Regions from separate parts of the Homo sapiens genome. Here all the other regions are linked to region 1. The links are contacts of gene promoters, found by promoter capture Hi-C in blood cells and fetal thymus (Javierre and others, 2016). All regions are on one chromosome and are shown on one strand. The core of a region is centred on a gene start or on the middle of the fragment in contact, and the rest is flanking DNA. Distances in the headings are between cores, read along the strand shown. Region 1 holds the start of KRTAP27-1 (keratin associated protein 27-1). Region 2 has its middle 30 kb from the start of KRTAP19-8. Region 3 has its middle 7.4 kb from the start of KRTAP19-8.

Region 1 (3,901 bases), core at 1,402-3,901:
TTAATCTGGGCAGCCCTTGGCTCAATCATGTTGATACATAGAATTACCATGGCACCCACCCTCAGAACTAACTGGTAAATTATCAGTAGCATTAGGTTTGCCATAGATTCAGAGATACTTGCCAATTTACTTCAACTAGACAGCGTTTAAGTTTCTTAATTTTCTCCCTTAGTAGATGATGCTGCCTGCATCTTCCAAAATACAAAACAGCTAATCTCTCTTTTGTTGGATGACTAGCTTTCCTAATCTCTCATGGATTTCTGGGTTTATTTACAAATCCCCACTACCTCCCCCATACCAAGTCTCTGAGCTAGCTGAGTTGCTAAATATGCTATATACATGGTAATTTTTTAAGCCTTACACTTTCAATTTATTAACTTATTAAGGCTCACAGTAGCCCTATTATTATCCTTCACTTTTGAAGTTGAAGAAACTGAGGTGGTTAAATAACTTGCACACAGTCACACAGTTGGAACTTAAACAGCCATCACTAAGCAAAGCTAAGATTCCAGCTCAAGGAAATCCATATTCAGAGTTCATGCTCTCAACCACTACCTTATTTTGCCCTGAAAAAATGTGAGATCCAAGGCCAGGCATGGTGGCTCACGCCTGTAATCCCAGCACTTTGGGAGGCCGAGGCAGGCGGATCACGAGGTCAGGAGATTGAGACCATCCTGGCTAATGTGGTGAAACCCGTTTCTACTACAAATACAAAAAATTAGCCGGGCATGGTGGCAGGCACCTGTAGTCCCAGCTACTCGGGAGTCTGAGGCAGGAGAATGGCGTGAACCCAGGAAGCAGAGCTTGCAGTGAGCCGAGATTGCGCCACTGCACTCCAGCCTGGGTGACATAGCGAGACTCCATCTCAAAAAAAAAAAAAAAAATTGAAAGATCAATTTAAGAACACACCAAAAGTTTCAGAATAGCTAAGCTACCTAAATAAAATTAATCAATTTCAAACATCTGACTCTATGGTCTTATGATGTTCATATGAGTATATTTTCCATCTTCTGTTGACTACCACCATGAGTTATTCTTTTCTGGTTCACACTATAAAAATTATAACAAGAGGATATGTTCTCTTTTCTTCTAAATATTTATACTATTTTCATTAGGTAACAAACGAAGAAACAAAAAGCCTGTAACATAACACCTGCAAAAGGATTGAATAAAAATAATAGTGTGACAAGTCCAAATTTTGCTTCCAAAGAAAGCAAATTTATTTAATACAAAGAATATTTTCCAAACTCAAAAAATACTTAAGAAATAATGAAAACAGGAAAAAAACAAACAACCAAAAAAACAACGGGAACGAAATGAAGTGAAGATTCTAAACTTCAATTCATTCTATTTAAAGGCTTCTGGTTGCTACGTGGTTATAAAGCCCATGGAGGTGAAATTCAAAATTACCTTGCTCTATTCGAACAATAGACTTAATCTTCTAGTTAATTTGAGAATGTTGTGATTCAATGGCTAAAATAACAGATGGCCAGTGAGTAGGCCTGGATTTTAGTTGTGGTTCTGATGTTATTAACTACTTGGGCAACCTCTGATAGAGTTGAACCTATCGTAATTCACAGGACTAGGTAGGCTTTTAGGTTTGGTTCCAATATTTTATGAATTTCTGAGACTAGTAGCACATTACTTAATAAACCAGATCCAATGCTAAGTATTTCCAAAGAAAACAACTTGCAGTTAAAGTGTGATGTTTCCTTTAAGTATTCATGTTATTTCCTGGCTACAGCTCTTATTGCTTAATAACAAATCGTATCCTACTGCTCTAAAATAGCTAGCATGCTTTCCAACCCCAGATTACCACTAGACATACCCAAAAGAAAAACAAGAAAAAAAATCTTGTCTTTGGAGACAGTAGTAAAATAAGACATGTTCATTTACTAACAAACACACACAACATTTTTTATTTAAAGAAATACAAAATATCTAAGTATCTCAAAAATAAATTCATCCAAATGAGAATATAAGCCATCTCCCCTACAGATCTTCACTTACTAGGCAATTGAGAACCACCAGTAACACAGCAAGTTGGTTCAACTCCTGGAGAAGATTCCAGGAGTTGTGGCTCAGGTGCAACATTGACCAGAGGTCTACAGGAACTGGATTCAGGGTTCTGAGACTGACACTGACATTGGCTAGATGCACGTTCCAGAGTTTCGAAATTTTTAGACTTAGAAGTCTTGGGTGGGCAACTGTTTCCCTTGAGGCTTGCAGGTTGGCAGCTCTGGGCTACAAAACCCATCTGCTGAGTGCTTTCTGATTGGCAAGGCTGAGAAACACAAGCCAGCCCTGCTGAAGAACTTTCTGATTGGCACGCTGTCCTTTCGCAGGGCCTGGAATTGGAGTAAGTAGTTTGGACAACTCCGGGGAAGCAGTTACTTTGCACACAGCTATCGTCTGTGAATAAGTCCTGTTCACAATTGGTCATTTGGCAGCTGGTGGTTTCATTGCAGGTTTCTTGAAAGTTGTCCAGGAAACAGGTTCTGCTATGGAAGCTGCTGGGCAAACACAATCTGTCTTCAAAGGTTATAGGATTAGTGCCATGTGTGATGGCAGAGAGTGGTGGGGCATTGTGGAAGCTCCTGAGTGAATGGCAGTGGCTATGAGGCATATTGCTAAAAATCCTTAAAGATGGTCATAAGGACTCAACATGCTGAGTTTGAAAATTAAATTCTTTGGTGCGGCGATTATATACTCAGAAACCTGGGTGTTGGCTTCTCAAGACTTCTTTGCAACTCATTGCTTAAACTAATTTGAAGGATAACATCTCATTACCACTTTGGTTATATATGCAGATGATGTCTTATTAACAAAGATGTAAGTCCATTTTGAATCTTCAAAATGGCTTTTATGTTAGCTCCAAAGATGACTCATTCAAGGTGGGGTTGGTCAAATAAGAGTCTAAACCTGTCCAACCAAGCTAACATTTTTTTTTTTTTTTGCCACCATGACTCTGCACATTGGTAAGTGGACAATGAGAAATGCATGAGGCAGTGGCCAACTGAATACTGATTAACATTTAGCACTGGTTTTGAGAGCTGCCAATGTAGCAGAATGTGGTAATTTGATGTTCAAGACATTTAAAGTTAGAATTGGATCCAGGTTGAGCCCAATCTCATTCCACTCAGATATTGTTCTCTCCAGTGGACCAGAATGTGAGAGGACTTTGTGATCACATTCCTTCTCAGTGTTCATGCAAAGTACTGAGTGTGGCCATTGCCCAATAAATACTTGTCTTTTGCCTAACATTTCGTTTCCCTAATCTCCTTGAAAGCCAAGTTTAAATGCGTCCTTTTCCTGAAGTCTTCCCCAATCTTCCCATTTAGGAGTTATTTCTTCCTTTTCTGAATTACTAATGGATTTAATTCCTTTTTTCTATACTTGACAAAGTGGTGTGTTTACTTGTGTTTGTGCTTCTCAAAGGTTGATTATTTTCCTTTATAATGAACCTTCTTCAGATATTTTTCATCTTTATTCTGTGCTTTTTTTATTGACTGCAGACAGATGATCAGTTCCTATGTTTATCGCATTAGGACACCGTTCTTAGCATAGTTTCATACTCATGGCACAGAGCCAACCAGCACAATTTCTATAACATATTCTATAATATATTTGGCTCAGCTAATGACAATAAAATAGAAGTATAGTCTTAGTGCACTAACTAGACTCCCTTTCTAAGGTCTGAAGAAGCCCAAGAACATTCAGCAATTCTCAGTAATTCTTATGCAAACACTTCCTTGAAAGACTGAGGATATTATAAATTTAAAAGGGCACATCTGAATACTTTCAGCTTTATAGGCTGCACACTCATCTTGTATACAATACCTTTGTAACACACGCAAGTCATTTATAATTTTGAATAACCACACTTGTATGTTTAAAGATC
Region 2 (3,901 bases), core at 594-3,093, 730 kb after region 1:
GAGGGATAGCATTAGGAGATATACCTAATGTAAATGACGAGTTAATGGGTGCAGCACACCAGCGTGGCACATGTATACATATGTAACAAACCTGCACGTTGTGCACATGTACCCTAGAACTTAAAGTATAATTAAAAAAAAAAAGGGTAATAACATCACCCAGAGATGGATTAGATGACACATGAGACTTTGTATCCTTTTGGGGCAAGAAGGTTAGCAGGTGTTAGGTTGTTTGGGGGGTGGTTGCATCAAGTTAGAAAGTTAAATATATGTTAAAAAGGTATATATGGTGCCAAGTTAACAATGGGTTGACTACGTAGTTTTATGCATGCCAACTGGTCTACTAGCACTATGATTCCCAGAATTATCTTCTGGGAAACCTGAGCAAGATTTGGAAGGCAGAAGTGAACGGCAGCCATTGACTCTTCAAAGACCATCATTGTTAGTGCAACAAGGGATAGAAGCAGAAGTGCTGGCAGATTCCAGCCCTCATTCATGTTTTCCCTCCTCTGTATCTAGCTCTTCTTCCTGACTGCAAGCTTTGCTGACTGTGATAGGTAATTTTATGTGTCAACTCAGAGGGCATTTTGAGATGAAATTAACATTTAAATCAGTGAACTATTAGGTAAAGTAGATTGCCTTCCACAATGTGGGTGGGCCTCATCCAATACGTTAAAGGCCTGAACTGAACAAAAAGATCAGCCTCCCTGAGCAAGAGGAACTTCTCCAACAGACTGCCTTCAGCCTTTATCTGCACCATCAGCTCTCCAGGATCTCAGACTTGCCAGTCCCCCTGCAGATTTTAGACTTCCCAGCCGTCGTAATCACGTGAGCCAATTCTATAGATAGAAAGATGGGTGGATGGATGGATAGATAGATGATAAACAGATGATAGACAGATGGAGATAGACAGATAGATAGATGATATACAGATAGATGATATACGGATAGATGGGTAGATAGATAGGCAGGCAGGCAGATAGATCCTACTGGTTCTTTCTCTCTGGAGAGCCTGAACACACGGGCCAACAATCTTTCCAGGCCCATAACCAGATGCAAAGGCAACAACAGGGTTCCCAGGCTCCTTCCCAGTTTCATTCCTCAGCTGCTGCCCCTGCCTTCCCACATTCCTTTGTGAACTCTGCCCTTGTCCACTTGCACTAGCATTTCAAAAGGCACGGTTATAGACATTTCTCTGATCCTCCAACCCCTCCTTGTAAACTATACTTCTCCGGCCCCTTCCATAATGGTATAAGGCTTTATTACTATGATAAATCCCTTATTCTATAAAACTCGTAATGGTTCTGCTGTCTTTATTGTACCATGACTGATACAATATATTACCATTTTGTGCAAAAGAAATTGTGCTAACATTCTCAGCATAGGCAGTAAAGCACTCACACTGTAAAATGGTTCTCATTTCTTGTCCCATTCATCCGCTCATTCATTCACTGAGGAAACATTTGCTGAATACCTACCATCGGCCAGGTGCTGTTCTAAGACAGCAGACTTAAAATACACAAAGGGCTGTGATGTGAATATGATCAGCATCTAGAACTATAACCACTGAAGGGAAATTGCCAGGAGGAGATTTCAGTTCAATATTAAGAACTTTCTGACAATTAAAACTGCCTCAAAGGAATGGCCTCTCTGTTCTAAGGTAGTAAAGGCCTAGTACTACAGAAATTACCTAGCAACTTACTTACTTACTTCTGACACATCAGAAGCCCTGATGCATCAGTTAGCAGAGTTTGAATATTCACCAGGTTCAATTTTATATTTATATTTGATGATTCCAATATATTATATGCTATCTGTGAGATTTTGAGACTCTATATTCTGTCTGTATTCTAAGGTGACTATGAGATATAGTAGGATTATATAGTAGTCTCAGAATAATACCAAAAAGGGAAGAGAACAGGTGTCTTTTGTTTACCATATGCCAGGCAATATTCATTAGTTGTTTTATAATCCTCCCAAAACTCTAAAAAGTAAGTGTTATTATCCCCTCTCTATGGATAAAGACACTGAAATTCAGCAAGTTATAGTGACTTATCCAAACATCTCAGCCACCAATCAGAAGAAACTGAAAACTTTCTGACCCCAAACCTATGTTTTTTCTTATGCTGTATCACCCTCAAGTTTCAGCATTTTTATGTAAGAATTAGTATGGGTCGGGCACAGTGGCTCACGCCTGTAATCCCAGCACTTTGGAAGTCCCAGTCAGGTGGATCACCTGAGGTCAGGAGTTCAAGACCAGCCTGACCAACACGGAGAAACCCCATCTCTATTAAAAATACAAAATTAGCCAAGCATGGTGGCGCATCCCTGTAATCCCAGCTACTCGGGAGGCGGAGGTTGCGGTGAGCCGAGATCGTGCCATTGCTCTCCAGCCTGGGCAACAAGAGTGAAACTCTGTCTCAAAAAAAAAAAAAAAAGAATATGATTACTATTCATAATTATTGTAAGATTATTAACTTTCACATAATAAAGCATAATTCCCCATTTTTCAGGTCAAATCTTAATGCATGCATATTTCAATATATCTTAGAATATATATTGTATTAAATATATTAAGACAATAACACTACATCATTTGTCAAATGTTTTGTATGTTCCAACCACTCCAAAGTGCTTTACATTCTCAATTCATCCTCACAGGAGTCCTGCAAATGGAGATATTTTTTAGCCTTATCCTACAGATAAGAACAATGAAAATCAAAGAGGCTAAGACATGTTTCTAAAGTTGATCAGCAACTAGAAAGTGGCAAGGCTGGAATTCCAATTTTGTTCTGGTTGACTTTGAAGCTCCTTTTCCATGTTCTGGGTACCCTGGCTTACTCTCTCCCTTGGGCTGGGGCGGGGATGGTAGATTTTTCTTACCATATTTTGCAAGATGACTTGCTCTTTCTCCTATATCTTCCAAGATTATTTGCTGCCTTCTCCCTCTGGTTGTCTCCTTAAACAGCTTCTTGTTTATTTCTATAACAGTTTCTACTTTCAGCCCCATTTAAAATAAAAATTAGGAAGACTCACCCCATCAAGCCATTTCAATATGTGGAATTGGTTGAGCAAATAAAAAAAATTTGAGAATACTGAAGTTGCCATGGATGACATATTACTACCATTCGTTGTAATTTAGGTGTTGTAAGCTTTTTTTGTTTTTTCCACTTTGCTCAATCAAGCACTCCTAACTTGATGGTCTTGCTTCTAGCTATGATTCAAATCCACGGAGGATTTCATTTTGACTTTAAACTATAGCTGATTTGCTGTAGGAGATGCTTAAGACAACCAGAGATATAAATTGCCTCATCTACCGCCAAGGGAAAAATGATTGTATCTTGTAATATGAACCTCAGGATAGGGACGAGCTTGTTGGCTATATACTCCTGTTACCAACATCAGCTACAAAGAAGAAAAATAGAATTGAGGAGAAGATCATTTGTTTTCAGCTCATTACAGGGAAAGGAAAACTACGTTAGTATATATGATTCATACATAAAGAGGAACATATACATAAACACACAGTGGGAGAGAAGCAAGCTAGCATTTATTAAGTCTTAATATATACCAAGAGCTTCAGGTATCTTAAACAACCCTAAGAGATTTGGTTATTTCCATATTATGAAGGAAAGAATTGCAAAAACAAAAAAATCTGAGTTTATAAACCCCTCCTAAAGTCCAGATTTTCTGTACCATATTCTATTGACTTTATGTACAATCTTACATAAATTCCTCTTAGAAATTCTGAGATCGTTGTATATCACTTACCTTTAATATTTCAGAATGAAAATAAAGTCATGAATCTCTAAACGGGACTTCAGATTCATCTGCAGCCTCTACCAATTGTTCCCTCTTCTTTAGTTTTTCTTACCCTGTTTACAAGTGCCCCTATGTTTAA
Region 3 (3,901 bases), core at 775-3,274, 710 kb after region 1:
CAGGTTGTGTACTCACCATACTCCCAGTGCCTGGGGAACAAGTCAGTTCTTGGAGGGGATCTGGCAGCACATCCTGGTGTTGAGCACATGCTATCCCAGGCTCCTGCTGCAGATGCTGCCCGGGCCCCGCCTGTATGCTCAGACCCTCAATGCCAGCAGTCCTCCTGATACAGTTTGGCTCTGTGTCCCCACCCAAATCTCATGTTGAATTGTAATCCCCATGTGTTGGACGAAGTGCCTGGTGGGAGGTGACTGAATCATAGGGGTGGACTTCCCCCTTGTTGTTCTTGTGATAGTGAGTTCTCACAAGATCTGGTTGTACAAAAATGTGTAGCACCTCCCCCTTCAGTCTCTGTCCTGCCACAATGTGAAGAAGGTGCTTGCTTCCCCCTTCACCCTTCTGCCATGACTGTAAGCTTCCTGAGGCCTCCCAGTCATGCTTCCTGTATAGCCTGCAGAACTGTGAGTCAATTAAACCTCTTTCCTTCTAAAATTACCTAGTCTCTAATAGTTTTTTTTTTTTCTTTTGAGATATTGTCTCACTCTGTTACCCAGACTGGAGTGCAGTGTTGTGATCTTGGCTCACTGCAACCTCCTCCTCCCAGGTTCAAGTGATTCTCCTGCCTCAGCCTCCCAAGTAGCTGGGACTACAGGCATGCACCATCATGCCTGGCTAATTTTTGTATATTTTTTTTAGTAGAGGTGGTGTTTCACCATATTGGCCAGGCTGGTCTCAAACTCCTGACCTCATGATCTGCCCACCTCAGCCTCCCAAAGTGCTGGGATTACAGGCGTGACCTGGTAGTTCTTTATAACAGTCGAAGAATGGACTAATACACCTCCCACGGATGGAATCCACATTGCTGTGCCTGCTGGCTTTTGGCTGAACCACTGAAGCAGCTTTGCTCATAAGTGAGAACATTTGGAAGTGCCAGGGAATGAATGTCTCCCTCCCTCCCACCAGCAGCCCTTAATCACTGACTCTTGGGAGTTAATAAAGACCCAGCTACCTGGCCCCTCCATAGGCTAGTTCTGATGTATGTTTTCCACTATTCCTCCAGTTTCCACGGGAGATTAAGCGCCAGTTACCCACTGCAGGAACTGTCTTAATGGCCCACCCTTTGCTGTCCACCTTCCCCTCTATTTCTCACTTTCCCACTCCCCTACCTCTGTTCCCTCCCCCTCCCAAATAAACTACTCCCAAATAAAATCTTTGTCTAAGGATCTACTTCTGGGAGAAGCCAAACTAAACAGTTCCCATACTAAATATATATATATGTGTGTCTAGTAGACACAGATCACAGAGTTTCTGCTATTAAAAAAAAAACAATGCGTAGAGATTAATGCCACCAGGAAGAAGAAGGATATAATATAGTGAAATCCTTTCGAAGAAGAAAAAGGAAATAGAAAACCTACTGTTTCAGGCTGCTATTTTTTAAAACCATAAAATGTATGGCTTATATCAATAGAAATCTATTTCTCACAATTCTGGAGTCTGGGAAGTCTAAGATCAAGGTGGCAGTAGATTTGGTCTCTGGTGAAGGTCTGCTCCCTCATTCATAGATGGCACCTTCTCACTGTGTTCTCTCATGGTGGAAGAGGCAAGCTAGCTCTCTGGGTTCCCTTTTATAAGGACACTAATGCCATTCATGCAGGCTATGTCCTCACTACCTCATCACCTTCCCAAAGCCCTACCTCCTAACACAATCATCGCAGGGATTAGAATTCCAACATAGGAATTTGGAGGAGACACAAGCATTCAGACTGTAGCACCCACTCTGTATAATGCACTGGAGTATGAAAGAAAGAGTGGAAGAAATTGTAGACACAAGTCCTCACCTTCCCCTTCTCAAGATAGAAGTCTGTAGCATGAAGGACAACTAGAAACATCCAGGCAGGCAGTGTTAGAGAAATACAATTAACAACAACATATCTCCAACCCAGAAAACTTCCCACAAAGGAAGAAGAGGAAGAAAACAATTTCATTATTGAATAAACATTGAACCAGAACGTGGTACACATCACAGGCGACCCACTAAGAAATTGTGAAGACAGAAAGAAGTCTCACCTTTTTATACAGCCAAGCAGATACAGAGTGTTACATACATGTTCTCAAAATAAACAACACCTACGCCTCCATAAGAGGACTTGGCAGCATGATTTGTCACACATGGCTCATCCTAGATTCACTGAGTAACTGCAGTGGCCATCTGTGTTTCCCAATTGGCTTTATTCAAAGGAAAAATAAACTTCTTATATCCTGATGATAGAAGGTAGTTTGGGATCAAGACACCTGCCAAAGTGACAGAGAATTTACAATGACAAGTTTTCTAAAGCAAATGCTCTAAGAAAAAGGAGGTCTCTTCCCTTATTTTCAACAGAAACAATGACACTTTTTTTTTTTTTTTTTTTTGAGATGGAGTCTTGCTCTTGTCGCCCAGGCTGAGTGCAACAGCACGATCTCAGCTCACTGCAATCTCCACCTCCCAAGTTCGGGTGATTCTATTGCCTCAGCCTCCTGAGTAGCTGGGATTACAGGCATCTGCCACCACACCCAGCTAATTTTTTCTATTTTTAGTAGACACGGTTTCACCATGTTGGCCAGGCTGGTCCCGAACTCCTGACCTCAGGTGATCCACCCGCCTTGGCCCCCCAAAGTGCTGGGATTACAGGCCCAGCCTCTCATTTTTATTTGTATTTGCCCTTACAGTACTTGGAAACCCCTACACTTGAGAGGTTTTCATGGAAGACAATTTAGGTGATGCTCCAGTGAACAAGGTGGAGAATTATGGAGACAAGAAGAGAAGGGACAAGGGATCCGATGAAACTATCCTGTGTTGTCTGTTATACAACTTTAGCTTTTCTTGTAAGATGAGGAGTCATTACAGAGTTTTGCCCAGAGGAACGATAGGATTTGGCTTACATGTTAGAGTCACTCATTATTCATAAGTATCTATTAGCAACTCTATTCCTGGGACTGTTCTTGGTGCTAAAGAAGGTACACAAGAAACAGAGCTTTGTTGTAAGGTTTTTTACTCTCCTGATGGGGAAATAACAGGGAAAAGCAGCCACTAGTAACACAGGTCATATAGGCAGCTGTCAGTGTACAGAAAAGGCAAGAAGAAAAGAATACAGAGAAAATGGAAGACTAAGGACTGAAACAGTCACAGAACGCATCAAGGGGAAGACAGAATTTGAGCTGGGCATTAAAGGGTGGTAGTAGTTGGAAGACAGAGAGGAAAATAGTATAACTTAAGGGTAAGGAATGTCTCTGAATATACTGAATTGGATTTGGACAGGTTGGGAAAAACCAGCAAGATTGCAGAAGTCTGATGCTGCAAGAGGCGAAGGGTTACTGATAAGGACAATGAACAGATCATCATGTAACTAGCTAGTAGAAACGTTCCCATTCTCTGCTCTGATATCTTCAACTGGAGCTGAACAGAGTGGCCATATATTTGCATAATGGCCTCCTCCCTTGTTACTTTTTACCAATTAGCTGGGTTTAACAAGAAGCAATTATGACAATTACTTTTAATTACTTCTGCTATTCCCTCCTCACCCTATTCTTCCTTTCCTACCCCTTTGATTAAAAACTCACCCTCATTGTTGTGTAAAACTTTAAATAACTTAGAAGCTTTGAACAAAATGCCAGTTTACTGGAGGATGAGGAAGGGGGCTTCAAGACTGATGGGAACCAAAATTATGTATGATGGTTACTTTTATCTAGCAAACTGACTGGGCCATGGGGTAGCTGATATTCAGTTAAGTATTTTTCCTGGTGTTTCTGCGAAAGTGTTTTGGATGAGATTAACATTTAAGCCAATGGACTAAGTAAAGCAATTGCCCTCCCTAGTGTCAGTGGACCTCATCAAATCAGCTGAAGGTCTAAATAGAAGGA

The links. Contacts are between HindIII fragments. The CHiCAGO score rates a contact against its expected background, and 5 or more counts as called.
Region 2: a contact is called between a fragment that was not itself captured here and the fragment with the promoter of KRTAP27-1 in region 1, in 5 of 17 cell types (naive CD8 T cells, M0 macrophages, activated CD4 T cells and 2 more). The highest score is 8.5, in naive CD8 T cells.
Region 3: a contact is called between a fragment that was not itself captured here and the fragment with the promoter of KRTAP27-1 in region 1, in 1 of 17 cell types (activated CD4 T cells). The highest score is 5.1, in activated CD4 T cells.

The regions. Positions count from the first base shown.
Region 1 is chr21:30,335,043-30,338,943 of GRCh38, forward strand. KRTAP27-1 (keratin associated protein 27-1) reads right to left here and starts at 2,652. Exons shown (of 1, transcript NM_001077711.1): 1 at 1,971-2,652. The coding sequence starts at 2,626. The coding sequence ends at 2,003. The HindIII fragment of the contact is 10,696 bases long and covers 1-3,901 here.
Region 2 is chr21:31,066,754-31,070,654 of GRCh38, forward strand. No RefSeq gene overlaps it. Among named protein-coding and RNA genes, the nearest start is that of KRTAP19-8, 30 kb to the left of the region's middle. The HindIII fragment of the contact is 2,613 bases long and covers 538-3,150 here.
Region 3 is chr21:31,043,886-31,047,786 of GRCh38, forward strand. No RefSeq gene overlaps it. Among named protein-coding and RNA genes, the nearest start is that of KRTAP19-8, 7.4 kb to the left of the region's middle. The HindIII fragment of the contact is 3,221 bases long and covers 415-3,635 here.